Linked DNA regions of Homo sapiens: region 1 is linked to region 2. Evidence: promoter capture Hi-C in human tissues and cell types (Jung and others, 2019). All regions are on one chromosome and are shown on one strand. The core of a region is centred on a gene start or on the middle of the fragment in contact, and the rest is flanking DNA. Distances in the headings are between cores, read along the strand shown. Region 1 has its middle 1.8 kb from the start of TRL-TAA1-1. Region 2 holds the start of SF3B5 (splicing factor 3b subunit 5).

What was found. The method cuts DNA at HindIII sites, captures the fragments that hold promoters and counts their contacts. A contact is called where the count stands out against the background at its distance.
Region 1: a fragment that was not itself captured here is called in contact with the fragment with the promoter of SF3B5 in region 2 in 2 of the 25 tissues and cell types used here (hippocampus and spleen).

The regions. Positions count from the first base shown.
Region 1 is chr6:144,217,014-144,219,713 of GRCh38, forward strand. No RefSeq gene overlaps it. Among named protein-coding and RNA genes, the nearest start is that of TRL-TAA1-1, 1.8 kb to the left of the region's middle. The HindIII fragment of the contact is 9,184 bases long and covers 1-2,700 here.
Region 2 is chr6:144,094,233-144,096,932 of GRCh38, forward strand. SF3B5 (splicing factor 3b subunit 5) reads right to left here and starts at 1,341. Exons shown (of 1, transcript NM_031287.3): 1 at 652-1,341. The coding sequence starts at 1,265. The coding sequence ends at 1,005. RefSeq lists an enhancer at 1,091-1,790. The HindIII fragment of the contact is 26,090 bases long and covers 1-2,700 here.

The DNA.
Region 1 (2,700 bases), core at 75-2,574, 120 kb after region 2:
AGATGTAAAATGCACTCCAACTTGGGTTCGGCTTAGAATTTTTAAATACAGCGTGGTCAAGTTTTTTTTTTCTTCTTCTCCCTTTAAAATTGTTTGTTTAATGAGAGCCATCTAAGAATTTTTAAAAGTTGCAAGTACACTGCAAATAACTTTTTTTCCTCTCTTGAATCATTTAAAAGTAAAATACCTAGTGGATGCCCAAGTACTACTATTAAAATCAGGAAATTAACATTGATGATTTAATACCATCTAATCCTCGGTGCGCAATCGGTCACCAGTTGTCGCAAGAATGTTCTTTATAGCAAAAGGCTCCTCTTCAGAATGATGCGTTGCATTTACTTGTCCTGTCTCCTTCGGCTTCTTCCGTGTGGATCAGCTCCTCAGCCTCTGCTGACTTTCATGATCTTGACACTTCTGCTGACAAGCCAGCCGGTTTGTAGAATGTCCCTTTGTCAGTCTAGGTTTTCTGGTGTTTCCTCCTGATGAGATCCAGGCTCTGTTTATTTAGCAGGACTTCCACAGAAGCCATGCAGTGTTCTCACGGCAGCCTCTCAGGTCGCATGATTTCCGTGTGGCCTGCTTCTCTGCCAGGCTTCTCCTCTGTAAAGTTACTGTTTTCCCTTTGTGATTAGTACCTGTTTTAGAGGGAAGTGCTTTGAAGCTGTGTAATATCCGGTGCCTTATCAAATTTTCATTTTATTCAATTATTTATGGAATTATAAGTTATGTACGTATGTATCCATGGTGCCCTATTTTAATTAATGGTTACAATCCATTCATTCATTTTGATGCTCAGAGTGTCTCAGATTGGGCCAGTGACAGCCCATTCAAGCTGACTTTTGACCTGTCTGCATTATTCTTTAGCACTTCCTTACTTCCTACTCCAAGATGGTCCAGATTTACCTTGTGCTTTCCTGACCCAGTACTAGAATCAGCCATTTTCTAAAGATCCTTGGTTCCTTTTAGTGGAGAATGGTATCTAGAAACCAAGGTCTCAGTGCTAGGTGTGCTCATTGCTTTTGAGGTGTTGCTACTTCCAGGCCCTCTGGGTAGACAGAATTAAGGAGTGTGTGTGTGTGCATATTTATCTATTTGTATATCTATATAAATATATATCTATATTTATTCATATATCTTTATGTATATCAAGGAGTTTATATATACCTCCAATTCTGATCCAACACTATAGACTTTGTTCTATTTTGTCTCCCTGTCCATGTTTGTAACTCCCTGAATTCCTGCCTCCCCAGTGCAGATCTATACATTGCTTAAGCTCATGTAATGGCTTTAGAATTGAATTGTTCAAAAAGGAAAGAGAAAAAGAGTGTCTACATATTTTGGAAATAAACATCCTGCCAGCAACTGAGAACAGGCTCTGAGCCACTCACTATTAGATACTTGGGATGTGCAGATAAATAACCCGGCCTCTGTCTCAGTGAGCTCAGATAGCAAGAGACAGAGATTTTAATAAGCCACATTTGTAATGAAAAAATATGAATTATGCCCAAGGTGCTAAAGGAGTGGTTTGGGAAGGCCTGACTCTTCCTCAGAGAGCCAGCTTTAGTTGAGAGGTGAAAGAAGAGAAGCAGGGATGAGGGAGGGGCAAGAGGGAGAGGGAGACAGATACAGGTGGGGTAAGCCACGTGGGAGCCATCTGGGGGCCCTGTGAAGTATGATGCCCAGGATGCCCTGAAGGATTTGCAACAGAAGGAACCTGACAAGTGTTACATTTGGAAGTATCTGTGTCTACCGATGTAGAGAATCTTGGTCTGTCTTTATAGGCTTGGGATGGGGGGCATGTTGAATTGGTAGAAAATATTTTGGGGGAAAAATTGTTTAATTCTGTTAATAGCCAGTTAGACTGAGCTCAGTCTTTCTCTTCCTCCTTAAAAGCCCAGGATTTTTTCCTTGAAAAGCAGATTTGTTATATTAGATTCTTTATATATTTTCAAAAGTTCTTAAAACATAGCGAATATATTGAAGTTAAATTTGAATCGTTAACTTAGTTTGAATTAAATTTACATTAGTTTAAATTAAATTTGAATCATTAAATTTGTATACTGCCACTAAACTTATAATGATTTTCTAATAATTATTTTAACAAAAAGAACTTAAGTCAATCCTTTGAATTAAAAATTAACAGTGTGGCTTTATAAACATTCTCTGTGGGTTTGAACTAGTTGTAAGTTATTCAAAATTGTTTATTTTCTATTGGGCTTTTACATAGATCTCTGTAGGAAAAGCTGCTACCAATGTATTTACGCAGTGACACCTACTGGTTAAGTTGAGGCAAATTTTTTGTTAAATTCTGTCTGCCTTGTTCTGACTATAGAATTCTGATAATTTGCTCCACAGTTACTGTGTTTGGAAGCAGATTCAGGCTATATCTATGTCAGCCAGTAAATTGACTTTCTTTTTTCTCTTGTAATCATTAATGATAAACCTGCCATTGAAAATAATCCTGAATCACTGATACAACTTGCACGAGACATTATTTTCATTGTATCAATAGAAGCTTTATTGCACTGCATCTTCTTTGTTTGTTTCAGTTCATTTTCCAATTCCAAATCTGGCTATGAAGTTGAAGGATAATAGATATCTGGATTAGCCATCAGCTTTAAAACACAGAAGTCATGTCCAATTTGAGAGATCCTGAACAAGTAGCGTTCTTGGTCCTCAGTAGGAAGTTGGAATTTGGAA
Region 2 (2,700 bases), core at 91-2,590:
GCAATTTCTCCAGTTTTCCGCATGGCCATTTCCCTCATTTTCCTGAAGTCTTTGCTCAAATGTCACCATCTCAGTAACTTGTGCATCATATTTAAGATTACAGCCCTACCAGCTACTCCCACCCGCACCACATACATTGTTCTCCCCTCCCCGCAGCATCTTCTAACATTTGCTTATTACATCTAGTGTTTGACCTCCTTTCTCCACCACCAGCATAATGTAAGCCCCAAGAACACGGGAAAATGCCTGTCACATAGAGCTCAACAAATATTTGTTGAATGTAGAATGGATGAACTCGCTTGCCAGCTTGTCATTTCTGGAGACATGGCCACAAATTCCCAAGAAAAAAAAAAGGATGCATTTTAAAGAGGCTAGGGAGGACAATGACAGCAAAGACTGCAAAGAGTTTTAAAACAGGAGAAAAAGAAGATGGGATACAATAACCACAAATTTCAATACTGAAGGCATTGTGGGCCTGAAAATAACGCTCTTGGGAAAAGTGGCAGTCGGGGAATTAATTATAAAGGTAGACACGGCGGATCTAAGTGCCTGGCCATGGACACTGGCATGCGCTCCCTCACCCAAACCCACTTCCCGCTCAGCTCTTTCCGGAGCCTTCCACCCTAACACAGAAAGTTCACACCAAGAGACTGAACGATTTCTAAACTTTATGGAAAAAGCCAATGACAATCAATTAGCCAAAAACGAGACGCCAAATCCCATCTCACTCCAGCGCCATGCCCTCTTCTCAAACGCTCGCCGGCTCTAGGACCTCTCCACCAGCACAGTTCTCAGGAGTCCTGCTGGTCTCCCAGTGCTGTTCTAAGGGTCCACATGAAGGCAGGTCAGGCGGGACTCCCCGGGCAAGCACTTCTGTACGCGGAAAGCACGAGGCGCAGGAGCCATGGAGAGCCGGTCCTTTGGAGACAGGAATACTTAAGAGGATTGGCAAACCGGAGAAACGCTGGGAGAGGTGCCCCGCACTGCGGTGGTAAGGCAGAGTCTCAGTTCTCCTCGGGCTTGTCGGCTGGCGGTCCACAAGGCTGAAGCATCTTTTCCATCAAGTTGAAGCGGACTCGCGCTTTGCTCTCATTCTCCGCAATGGCGAAGTAGTTGAGAAGGTCGAAGTGGCCCATGTAGGAGCAGTACGAGTCGCGGTGTTGGTTCACCAGCCACTCCCACTTGGTGGTGTCGGCGTGGCCCGTGCCGATGTACTTGGACTGCAGGTGCTCCAGCTGGCTATGGATGGTGTAGCGGTCAGTCATCTCGCCGCTTTCCCCTTCGCTCTCAGGTCAGAGGACGCAGGTAACAACTCGCCGCTCTAGCGTTTTACAGGAGAGTGAAGCCACCGCGCGGAAGCTCCAGGTCCGCGCCGTCGCAGAAGAATGGCGTCACAACGACTAAGTAGCGTAACTCTCGCTCATAGGGCTCAGAGGCGGAAGCGGAAGCACATTCTGTCACGCAATTGGAGTTGCTGAGGCGACGCAACAAGTGTGCCTCCCCCCTCCATGGAGATCCCCGCCCCATCAGAGAATGTTGCATGATGGTCCACTTAGTGGCTAAGGGAGGCCCTTTTCCAACAAGGAGCGTTGCATGCTGGGACTTGTGGTCTTGGGAGTTCGTGCACGCAGGCTTCCGGGACTCCTGGTCGCGTTCTGTTGTTTGTTTGTTTGTTTGTTTAAGACGGAGTCTTGCACTGTTGCCCGGGCTGCAATGCAATGGCGCGATCTCGGCTCACTGCAACCTCCGCCTCCTGGGTTCACGCGATTCTCCTGCTTCAGCCTCCCGAGTAGCTGGGATGACAGTTGCACACCACCACGCCCGGCTAGTTTTTTTGTATTTTTAGTAAAGACGGGGTTTCACTGGTCTCGAACCCCTGACCTCGTGATCCGCCCGCCTCGGACTCCCAAAGTGCTGGGATTACAGGCGTGAGCCACCGCGCCCGGCCCCTGGTCGCGTTTTAAAAGTGATCTGGGGACCTAGTGGAGGGCGATGTCTGGAGGTGGGGAGCATCCGTGGGTGGCTTGGGGCTGATAGGAAATGGGAAACCCAAGAATGACTGGACTACGAGCAGCCCCGAAAATAAACTCTTGGTGTATTTCGGAGCCGTCGTGGCGGCACGGCCGTCCCTTCACAACCGGGGATGGATTACCCAGAAGTCAGCAGGCGCCAGTTCTGGTCCCAACTATGTCTCTTAGGAGTTTGTGGCATAAAAGAGTTATTTCAGCTCTAACCAGGGTGCTTGGTGAGCAAGTACAGCACCAGTTCCCACACATTCCGGCTTCCACCTCAAGCTCCTCCTTCCTCTCTAGCCACTTATTTTGATATCCTCCCTCCAAGGCCTCACCTCACCCTACTTGGCTCTTCCATTCAGTGGGTTTTGTGGATTCAACCAACCTGATTGAAAATATTGGGGGAAAATATCAGTCTGTACCGAAATGCAGACTTTTTAAGGTTATTATTCCCTAAACAATACAGTATAACAACTATTTACATAGCATTTACATTGTATTAGGTATGTTAAATAATCTAGAGACAAACTATACAGGAGGATGTGCGTATATGCAAATACAAGCCGTTTTATATCAGGGACTTGAGCATCCTCTAGTTTTGGTATCCATGGGGGTCCTGGAACAAATCACTCACGAATACTGAGGGACAACTGTATTTCTCCATGTTACCTGTTGTGTCCATCCCCAT